Regions from separate parts of the Homo sapiens genome. Here region 2 is linked to region 1. Evidence: promoter capture Hi-C in human tissues and cell types (Jung and others, 2019). All regions are on one chromosome and are shown on one strand. The core of a region is centred on a gene start or on the middle of the fragment in contact, and the rest is flanking DNA. Distances in the headings are between cores, read along the strand shown. Region 1 holds the start of ZIC4 (Zic family zinc finger 4). Region 2 overlaps LOC440982 (a long non-coding RNA gene).

What was found. The method cuts DNA at HindIII sites, captures the fragments that hold promoters and counts their contacts. A contact is called where the count stands out against the background at its distance.
Region 2: a fragment that was not itself captured here is called in contact with the fragment with the promoter of ZIC4 in region 1 in 2 of the 25 tissues and cell types used here (ovary and pancreas).

The regions. Positions count from the first base shown.
Region 1 is chr3:147,404,934-147,410,721 of GRCh38, reverse strand. ZIC4 (Zic family zinc finger 4) reads left to right here and starts at 4,179. Exons shown (of 5, transcript NM_032153.6): 1 at 4,179-4,359. It overlaps ZIC1 (Zic family zinc finger 1), which reads right to left and starts at 1,357. Exons shown (of 3, transcript NM_003412.4): 1 at 1-1,357. The coding sequence starts at 609. RefSeq lists enhancers at 1,170-1,750, 2,173-3,363. The HindIII fragment of the contact is 11,475 bases long and covers 1-5,788 here.
Region 2 is chr3:147,448,506-147,454,248 of GRCh38, reverse strand. The region is part of intron 1 of LOC440982 (a long non-coding RNA gene); the gene reads right to left. Among named protein-coding and RNA genes, the nearest start is that of ZIC1, 42 kb to the right of the region's middle. The HindIII fragment of the contact is 4,689 bases long and covers 401-5,089 here.

The DNA.
Region 1 (5,788 bases), core at 2,930-5,429:
GTTCACGTTCATGGGCCCGTAGCCGTGCAGCTGCGGCGCAGCATAGTGCTCCGAACGCGGGCTGGTCACCTGGCCGTACTGCTCCGGTCGCGGGTACATGTCCCCCGAGAAGCCGAGCCTCATCTGCCCGTTGACCACGTTAGGCGACGCGTGGCCGGCAGCCTGCTCGTGAAGCCCGGGGAAGAGGAGGTGGCCCGCGGCGTCCGTGTGGCCGTGTGGGCCCCCGAAGCCCCCGGCCGATGCAGCAAAGAGGCTGTGCTGTGCGCTGGCTGCCGCCGCCGCGTCGCCAAAACCCCGGTTGCGGAACAGAAAGTCCCGCGTGGAGTTGAAGGCTGCGCTGGAATAGGAGCCGACGTGGCCCGGGTGATGGTGATGGCCCAGGGCCGCAGCAGCCGCGTAGCCTGGCGCCTGCGACGTGAAGGCCGTCTGGCCGGCCGAAGCCAGCTCGTGCGAACTGGGGTTGAGCTTGAAGGCGCCCATGCCGTCGGCGAACGGGTTGATGCCCAGGCCCACGTCTCGTTCGGCCACGTCGCCCGCGGAGTGGTGGCGGGACGCGCCAAAGGTGGTCACGCCGATCGCTGGGTACTGGGGGCCGGCGTCCAGGAGCATCGTGGCTGCTCGGGGCGAGCCCCGGCCTCCCCCGCCCCCCCCACCCTCGCCAGCCGAGGAGGGAAAATCGGGAGGAGGAGGAGGAACAAGAGGAGGAGGAAGAGGAGGAAGAAGAGGAGGAGGGAGGGGGAGTCGACCCACCTCGCGAAGTCCTAGCCTGCAGGCAATGGCGCGGCGCGCCCGGGCGCTGGCCGGGCCAAACGCAAAGTAGCCGGACGGCTGCGGGCCGCGAGTAACGCAGGCTCCAGCGCCCGCCAGGCAGATTCTGCCGGCCCGGCTCGCACTTTCTCGCCGCTCAGTCTCTGCCGAGAGGGCCGCGCGTCAAGGCTGCCCGGGGAAAGGCATGGAGCATCTCAGCCCCCTAAAAAAAAACTTCCTCCTGGATTTGTAGCATAGAGGAATGTGAGCGCCAGTGCCGCGACTGCTTCGCCCTCTCTCCGCCTCGCGCAGCGCGCCCCTCCTTACTTCTCCACTAGCCCCTCGCCCTTTCTTTTCTCTCTCTCTCCTTTCTCTCACGCTCGCCTCCTCGCTCCTTCACTCTCCGTTTTTCCCTCTCTGCTTTTTGAAAAAAAAAAAAAAAAAAGTGGGTGGGGGGGTGAAGAAAGAAAGAAAAAGCCAAAGAAAAGGCGCAAATCATGCACAATATTGTCTTTTGCGGTTTATCTTCCTGGGGAGAAACTTTCACCTCCTCAGCCGGGCGGTGAGCGCGAGACTGATAGCAGCAATCATTCCTGCAGATAAATGAATTGAAAGGACGACACCGTCCCCCCCTTGATGAATGGGAGCAGGGGGGAGGTGTCACGTGCTGCCGACGCTGGCGCCCATTGGTGCGCCCGCATTCCCCCCGCCCTCAGCCGCCGCGCCAACGGAGGGCGCGCCGAGGCGCCGCGCGCAGCTCATTGGCCCGCCCGCCTCATCAATCCCAGGTATTGTAAAGCGCTTGACATCCCCTTTTGACAAACCAGGGCTGCCAGGAGTAGCAACTTTTTTTTTAGCCAAATTTTTTCCCTCTTCTCACGGAAATTTTTTTTCTTTTTTCTTTTCTTTCTTTCTTTTTTTTTTTTTTTTTTTTTTTTTGCCACGATTACTTTTCCTTCTCACAGTCATATGCATTCCTCTTCCTCCTTTGCCCTCCCGCACCCCGGCGCTGCCCTTCCCGAAACCAACTTTTCGCTGAGCGATTAGAGACTTCAGACGTCTCCGGGTGCAGCAGGCGGGGATGGGGCTAGTAAACACAGCAAAGGCACTTCCAGAATGTCCCGATTCAGCAACTTTCTTTTCTTTCTTCCCCCTTCCCCCCTCCCTTCAAGAGCAGCAAAAGAGGCTTTTGTTATTTGCTCCTTTTGAAGTTTGTTTCCCTCTTGCTTTGTCCCCCTCCTGTTTATAATTTAAGATCTTGGGAGCACACGGGCACTATGCTCTCTTTACAAAAAAATGTAATTTCTCAGTGTAACCGGCAGCCTCTGTATTTCTCGCTTTTATCTAATCAGACTTCCGGCACCACCGCACCCCCCTCCCCGAAAACACACACACACACACACTCACACACACAGGTGGATGAAAGCGCTTAAGTTCCCAGGTTATTGAGGTTTGAATTTTTTAATGGCAAATTTGAAACGTTGTTGCCAGTTTCCTTTACTTTTTCTCTCTCTTGCGTTATTTTTCTGTTTTCTGCCTTTCCGTTGTCTCCTTCGACTGCCCCCGCTAACCCTGTCTCTCCTCACTCCTGTTCCCTACTTGGGCCCCTTTCATTCAGGTAAAACTGTAAATTTCCCAACGCGCTATTGTTCCCTTGGGCTGCCCAAAGCTCCCTAGAGATCCCCGAATACTTTTTCGGTATTTAAATCCCCAATAGATAGGACCAATGTAAATTTTGTGACATTCAAACCTTTTCTAGTTCACAAATCAGTCACCCTTGTCACAGTTATTGAAATTCCGCAACTCGCCACACCAGGACGGTGGAAAAAGCGGGCGCGGTCTTTGTTGCCGACCAGGCTTTTGATCGCCAGAGAAAATTTACTTACCTTCAGATGAGTGAGCAGAAAAAGAAATAACACTCCCTTTGATTTAGTTAGGAAAATGCAGACATTTGGATTCAGTGCAAACATACAACACTCGCTTGTTTTCGCGATGCGGCCCTCGATTAACCTGTCTTTGCCTAGCGCAAAGTCTATTCAACAACTGCGCGTAGTTTCTTTTTGTCCCTTCCACAAAGAGCCATTGACTATATATTAAAATGATTGTTGAAAGGTAGGGGAGTATGGTACTTAAAAGCAGGAAAAAAAAATCCCTGTGACTCAATCAATTAAGCCGAGCAACATTTATGCATTTCAAAAAATGCACGCGGATGCGGGGGGTTGTGGGGACGAAGGTTGCATTTCTCCGCAGCTCTGTTTAAAACCCAGCAGTCCTGGCCGAGGCTTTAGCTGAAGCGTCTGCATATTCATTAGGTCTAATTATTTTCTAGTAAGGAAAACACAAAAAGCCAAGAGTCGGAATCCTTCAATTTACCCTTTGTTTCTAACTTCATTTGGCTTCTTTGCAGCTGAATCAAAGCCCTAAACTCTTTTTCCAAACAAAGAAACCTCAACTCATCCTTTCATAGGCGGCCCGGTTAGGAAACTCACCGTGCCCCAGCGAGAGGAAAATGAAAATGAATATATTTTTTGCCCTGACGCCAGCGCTGACTGCACGGGCTGGAGGAAGGCAGGGTCAGCGTCCGCCGCTCCTCGCCTTTCTGGTTTTCTGGTCTTCTCACCAACTAGATTCTCGCTTGGGGCTGGCCGGCGGGACTGCCCTTTCCATGGGCTGTGCTTGCTCAAAAGTCGGCTTGGGTATCCGGGATGATTTCCCGGTGCCTGAAGGGACCTGGCTGAGCATTTGTGCTTGTGCCGGGAAATATAAATTCGGAAAAAAAATTAATTGTTCTGTTCCCATCAACAAGTCTGAGTCTAGCAGCCCAGCATTTCCCACCAACTTTGAGTGGAATGGAATGAGGAGTGGAGGTAAAGAAAGGGCCGAGGTATCTTTAAAAATTATTGTACACTTGGTTGGAAAAAAAAAAGATATATCGGAGGCACTAAGTCTTTTTACCTACAAGGGGAAGTTGGATCCTGCTTCCCCTGGAGTTTAGAAAACCTCATCTGTATGGAGAAGTTTTCTCTAGAGGCTGTATTCCTCTCACTAGGGAGAACAGATATTGAACCCACCTCGCCCGCCTTTCAGGAAACACACGCGGGCGCACACACACACACACAACAAGGGAGGGGACCTAAGGGGGGAAGGGTAGCTGTTGGGAGGGGGAGAGGGAAAATAATTCTTCAAAAAAGAAAAGTCAGTCTTCTCCTCTCCAGTCCGTGGAAAATCCAACGGGGACGTTGACAAGAGGGTATTTTTAGGAAACACATCCAAATATACAGGGTAAGAGTGAATGTGAGAAAAAAAAAAGTTGTGGGTTGTAGAAGTTATCAAGTGGGATTTGCGGCGCTCTCTGCAGGAAACGCGAACGGCTCCAGTTCAAAGCCACATGCACCAACGTGACATATAAGCCATTAAAATATCATCCTGACGGCTCATTTCTGCTTCATCATACATTCCCTAACTGCTTCCTGAAAGCTGGAAAAGGAGAAGTGAAGGATGACCGCCTCGCTGGAACCACAAAAGAGAGGCTTGGAGGGGTTTGTGGTCCCCTCTCAGCCACCCCGAAATGATGTGCAGAAATGAGGCGATCCTGGCAACAGGTGGAGTGGGGTAAGTGCGTGAGTCCAGGGGGCAGACAGATGAGAACTGTACCTCCAGCGACCGGGTAGCAAGTACCCTCAAGGGGACCACTGGCACCCAAACCCCAGTGGGGGAAGAGGCCCAGCCAGTCTTTCTGCCCCATCTCCTCCTTCATCCTACCCCCCTCCCCCAACCGTGGATAAAGGCCCCACCCCACTGACACTAAGGGGAGGAGGGGGCCCTTCCGCAAAGGGGCAACGCAGAGGATGAGTCCATCCCTTCTTCCCAGGAGGAGGGAAAAGGGGTACAAATGGGGCTCCCACTGGCACAGGAACCAGGAGCAGTTTGTTGCCTGCCTGCCTTCCCTTCTCTCCTTGTGAATTGCCTGGGTGCCCCACCGTGGGCACAAGAATGGAAGTCGTGGCCCAGAGCTTCCCTCGCGAAAAATGAGCAAGGCGGGTGCCGGGAGGGGGCCTTTACAGGAGGTATCTCTGCTCTGCCCCCAAGGGGGTGGCTAGGAGAGTCTCTGCTTCCCCTCTCCAGGGTCAAAGCGCCAAGTTAGCCCAGATGGCAGCAAGACGATGGAACTTCTCCGCCCCAACCTGACGGCAGATGCCGCCTGAGTCCACCTCAGGGCGGCTCCTTGCCCTCCCTCACCCTGGTCCTGCCTCAGGAAGCTGACTGCTGGGATCTGCTCTCTGCGCGCGGCCAGCAGTGGGTTCGGGACTTGGCTTTCTTTATCTCCAATGCGAACAAGAGCAGCAACTAGCTCTCTGGGGAGCAGGCCGCAGCTCCTAGGATTCTGGCCCCTAGCCTAGACCCAGGGGCATTGGAAATTAGGGGCCAATGAGGAGGGAATAGAGCTGAGCTGTGAAAGAAAGCTAGGACTGGCTCAAAGGTTGGATCTGAAAGTTGGGGTTGATGAATGGCCCATGTCAAAGTCTTAGGAAAGCGGAGGGGCTTTTGGAGGGTTGCACTTCGGCCGTCACCGTCTTCAGGAAACTCCCTTTGGATTCCAAGGTCATGTTTTCCCCGCTTTCCGACAGTATTGTCCTCGCAGCGACCCACACCACTGCATGCTGCTCTTTTTTCTCCTGTCTCAGCCGCCTGCAGGTTGGGGGAGGGGTGATTCAAAGGGAGGGCTAAATGCCCAGCCTGATCTACTGATACAAACTCTATTCTGGGCACCCGGATGCTGCCCACACTTACTTCAGCCCCGAGCTGGGAAACCCAAGCTTCTCCCTCTAGAGAACAGGAGAATGAGTAAAGGCCCCTGCACAACCCAGCCTCAGCAAACTCCTGGCGCTTGAGGGTCGAATGGAGGGGAGCCAGAAAGGTGCAGGGTGCAGATGAGTAAATCAGGCAGCGGGCAAAGGCCGGGGCCAGTTTCCTCTCTGGCTCAGAGCTCCCTGCCAGCTTTCAGGGTTTTTGCTCTGCGCCCGCCAGGGACAAGTTGCAG
Region 2 (5,743 bases), core at 1,496-3,995, 45 kb before region 1:
TGCTCTCCTTGTTGATCAGGCTAACGCCCTTGGAATTCTGTCCTACTTTTTTCTGTCTCTCTTTCCACATCCTATTTATCTGTCAGGAAATACTGGTGGCCCTATCTTCCATATATGTACATCCAGCATCCAAGCTCTTTTCACATCAACCTTCACAGCTCTGGTCACAGCTACAATCATTCTTACTTGGTTATTTACAATAGCCTCCCAACTGCTTCCCCTGCTTCCACCCGTGCCCTCCCTTTAGTGCGTTCTCTACACAGCATCAACATGATTCTATTAAAACATAAAGCTGGGCATGGTAGCTCATGCCTGTAATCCCAACACTTTGTGAATCCAAGGCAGGAGGATTCCATGGGCCCAAGAGTTCAAGATCAGCCTGGGCAGTGTAGAGAGACCCCATCTCTACTAAAAATTCTTAAAAATTAGCTGGGTGTGGTGGCGTGTGCCTTCAGTTCCAGCTACTTGGGAGGCTGAGGTGGGAGGATGGCTTGAGCATGGGAGGTCAAGGCTGCAGTGAGCTATGATCACTCCACTGTACTCTAGCCTGGGCAATGAAACAAGACCCCATCTAAAATAATAATAATAAAGCAGACACATCAGTCTTCTGCTCAAAACTCTGCAATAGCTCCCCCTCATTCAAAGTTAGAGCCAAAGTCCTCACAACACCTACAAGCCTTACCCGCAAAATTACCTTTTTGCTCACTTTACTAAGTTAGATGGCCTCCTTGCTGTTCCACAAACCACCAGGCATGTTTTCACCACAGGATCTTTGCACTTACTTGAACTAAAAGTAGATGCTTTTTCTCCAAATATCCACAAGATTGCTTCCCTCTCATCCTTTAGGGATTTGTTCAAAGGTTACCTTCTGATTGAGTCCTCCCTGATCATACTATTTAAAATTGCAAACCACCTTTCACATGTCCCTACCTTGACTCTGCATTTCCTGTTGTCTTTTTCTCCATAATATTTATTACCATTTTTCTTAGTACTTTACTTTTTAAAATTTTGTTTCTTGCCTATATCCCACCTACTAGAATGTAAGCTCCCAAGGGCAGATGTTTTTCTTTGTTTAGTTCAATGCTTTATCTTCAGTGCCTAGAAGAGTGCCTGACACATGCTAGCTACTCACAGATATCAATAATAATAAATATAAATAAATATTTGAAAAATAAGTAAGTCAAGGCACTATAAGTTATTCATCCATTATTCCCTTGATGAGTAAAAATGTAAATTGTTTCCTAAAACATATACATCTATATGAGGGTTTCCCTAGAATATATATCAAAAAGTGGAAAGGCGGGGTCGAATATTTGTACAAATTCATTGTAACACTACCCATTAAGCTTCCAAAAAGTCTGTAAAAACTTATATTTTCTTTTTCTTTTCTTTCTTTCTTTTTTTTTTTTTTTTTTTTTTTTTTTGAGATGGAGTCTCGCTCTATCACCAGGCTGGAATGCAGTGGTGCGATCTTGGCTCACTGCAACCTCCACCTCCCCTATTCAAGTGATTCTCCTGCCTCAGCCTCCTGAATAGCTGGGACAACAGGCACGCTCCACCATGCCCAGCTAATTTTTGTATTTTTAGTAGAGACAGGGTTTCACCATGTTGGCCAAGATGGTCTCGATCTCTTGACGTCAGCTGATCCACCCGCCTTGGCCTCCCAAAGTGCTGGGATTACAGGCGCGAGCCACAACGCCCGGCCGACAACTTATATTTTCAAAGAACAGTATATAAAAGCACTCCTTCAAAATTCACCTCTCATAATTGTATATTTTAATCTACAGTTCCTTTTGCTTGGAAGGTCCTTTTTGCCCTCAACCACCTGTGTCTCCAGGGTGAAATTCTACACATCTTTCAAAACCCAACTCAATCACCATGTCCCGGAGGTAATCAGTCTACTCTTCCCATTCTGAGTAGGGCCCAGAAATCTGAATTTTTATTCAGCACCTCAGATGATTCTAACTTTATTGATTCACAGAACACACTTTAAGGAATATAGTTATTAAGAAATACTAAGGCAAATATACTAGGACCAAGCATTGAAGACATATATCGTTACATACTACCAACCATTTCAATCATTCTTATAGGCAGGTATGTTACAATCTTCGTTTATTAGATAATCTTCCCAAAAACTCATGAATATAAGCTAATTCACTTAGTAAAGTACACCTGAGATTAAAGAATTTATTGACTATAACTTATCCCAGTTAAATTAAGCCAAATAACTCAGATAAAGTTTCTTGTTATATTGCTATGTCTCAACTTGCTGAAGTATGAGTCAGAAGAGCTTATGCAGCTTTCAGATGGGAAGAAATAGGGGCATATGGGAAGGGAGCATGTTGTCCAGTAACTGCATACACCAGACACACAGAATAGCTGGAAAAGATGATCTCATCAATCCCCATTTTATAAAGGTGAAAACTAAGGTTTAGAGTGGTCAAGAAATTCACTCTAGGACATACCCTCTTAGTAACTGGTGAAATAAAGATATTTTTACCTAGGTCTTTCTGGCAACAAAATTCATGGTTTTTTCCCAATATGCCAGATTGCCTCCCATATACCCCCAAAAGTACAACTGTGTGTGTAAAAAATAATTTGTGTTTCTTGAAAAATGAGAATAATAGTAGCTCACACATGAGAAGTTAAGCAAGTAAGCCTAAAGTGCTAAGTGTATCACCTGCCACTCAACAAATCTTGGTTATTATTCGCTACTGTTAATATACTGCAGTGTAGTCAAGTGATCAATATAGACATCTAAAATTTCCATTCTTGTAAAACCAGAAATAAAACTCAGTACGCTTATGTACCATGGGCCAAGCCTGTAAAAGCTTGGAATTAGACTTAAATTGTGTTAATAAACAGAAATTCAGCTTGTGTTTATTTGGTGTTGCATAACAGTTATCTAAGTAAAATCTTCAGGGAACTAGTAAATTGGCATTTTGTGTGAGAATAGAAATTTGTGATGTTCTTATCCAAGTTAGGAAACTTCTCACATGTTCTTTCTACTCTGAGTAACAATACATGCAACATGCAATATTACATGTATCTATATAACAAGATTGCTTATTTAATATTACAATTAGTCTCTTAATTTTTTATTCTCCATGTGATGCCTATCACAGGTTTGCCTTTTTACAATAATGGATTTAGATACTGTAAGTAACCATGATTACAGTAAATTGGTATTTGTTTTCATAGGAAAAGATCTTATAAAATGTTAATGGTAGAACCAAAGTTAATGCTATTGTAAAAATACAAAGATATATGTGTACATTGATGTATCTTTAATAAAGATACTGTAAGAAAAATGTATTACACCATCGTTTTCAAGTAGTCTAAAATTTTTTTTCTGGTAAAACCTATTATTCACCAGAAGATGTAATTAAGCAACTGAATTAAAATACTGCTTGATCTGGTTAATTTTAATGTATATGTGCTACATATTTAATATGTTTGGATTAAAGAAAATTATTATTTAACTTAGGTTTGAGAAAGCATGTAAGTGTATTTATTCTGACACTAAATTTTGAAGAAAGAGACATTATATTTATACTTCATCAAGCGGTAATGACTATGGTGTCCTGTGACTTTTGGGAAAGCTGAAGTATTCTGAGATCTATTTTTCAGAAAGATAATATATGATTTTGAATTAAGTCAAGAAAATAACAGTCAGTGTTATGAAGTTACCATTCTTGTTGGGATGCCAATAACATAAATCAGCTGTCTGAGATCCATAAACCATACAAGAAGGCCTCAAAAGTGTGTTAGCCCCAACTTCAGAAGCAAGCTTATCTAATACAAAGCATGTGTAAAAGCAAACAAATAATTCATCTTTAGTTTCCAATTATTTTAATATCTAAACTTTCTTATTAGAAATAATTCTAAGAGGAGTAAAATTTTCATATTCTTAGCTACTGTTAAATATAAATTATTTTCATCCATCATCTCAAAATACCTTGGAAAATGAATAAAAGCTATTCAAGACCTAGTTCATTTATTTTATTTTATCTAACTTTATTTTCCATGCAATGTGTTTCTTCGCTTAACTTTCAAATTGTAAAATGTTATAATAAAGCAAATTTATATTAGAACACTAGGTTGCTTTTATAAACAGCAAGTTTCTCAGTTGTCACTATGGAGGACAAATGGAGTATCAAATTAAATTTTTCATATTTATTTTTTTATAAGACCCACACTTACATTTCGGTGACTTTCATTCAAACTCACTACTGCTGAATTGCAAAATGTTGTCTTTGTCCTTAAGACCATGACAGAGAACTTTATCTGCATTCAAATTGCCTGCTGGTTTGTGGTATTTCAATAATAAAACAGCAGGATTGAAGGCTCATGATGAGAAATCTGACTAATTACCTGTTAGATGATAGATGGTTGTAACTCGGCAGTGCCAGTCGCTGAAAACAAAACACTTCCAGATATCAATCAGCTTCCTGACAAATCCAATTTCCCTCACATTCAGTGGACAATAAATGGGAATTTTACCCCTACATCTACATAGCACAGAGTTTTAACTTTAAAATATGCATAATGATATTTTAATAAAGTACATTTTTAGGTAACTTAGTATTTAAATACCTGACATATTCATATTTCAAATCTCTCAACTCTTAAAAAGATACATGGTGGAAATAATTGACATTGTAAATCTGTATTGTATTCCATTGCAGAGGGTAAGGTGTGCTTAATAGTAGTTTCCCTATTTTCTTTCTACATTTACATTTAACTCAAATTATTTGCAACATCTCTAATGGCTGTGTTCATTCTTTTTTTTTTAATTTTGTAATAAATGAATTGGATGAACATTCTACATGAGATTCAAAAAACAGAATGCCTAATTAATACTGCCACATACCAGCATGTGGGCAGAGTTAAAGCAAAGAGAGATCGAAGCATGGAAATTGAAAGCAGGCCCAGAGAAACACCTTGTTCTCCCTTATAAGGAGTGATTACATCATCAACATTTGAAAGTTATGGTTAACTCTAATAAGTTATAAAATTCAATATCTTATTCTGTGTTAAAACCAAGAAAATTAATGGTGGCAGAAGAATGAAAAAAGGAAGATTATTTGCTTCCTATTTATAGAAGAAGAATGATTTTGTCTGCAAAGATTGAAAAGTTTGACAGTATGTAGTCTGAAACCAGGCACTTTCAAATGTTGTTAGTGAAAGAGTACATTGAAGCAACTTCATTAAAGGAGAATTTGGCAATAACTATAAAAATGAAAATGCTTAGAGGCAACAATCAACTTTAGGAATGTCTCCAATAATTATCTTCATACATCGGTATGAATGCTCACTGTAGTATTATCTTTAGTAGGAAAAAAAGTTTTTTAACTGAAAATAAGGTTGTTCATAGGATATTTTTTTCAATAAAGTATGTAAATTTATTTAAAAATTGCTAAGAGCATAAATTTTAAATGTTCTCACCGCAAAAAAAAAAAATTATGTTTGTGAGGTGATGGATATGTTAATTAGCTTGATTTAATCATTCCACAATGTGTGTGTGTGTATATATAAACATTACTTTGTACACCATAAATATATACAATTTGTATTTGTCAACAAAAGAATCTTAAAATGTGTAATCAAAACCTAAAAATAAATATTTATCTTAATAAAAAATAAATAGATAAAAAATAAAGTATGCACATCCATGCAATAGAATACTATGTGGCCAAACATAGTTTTTAAAAAGAATAGGGTAGACATGCATGTGCTA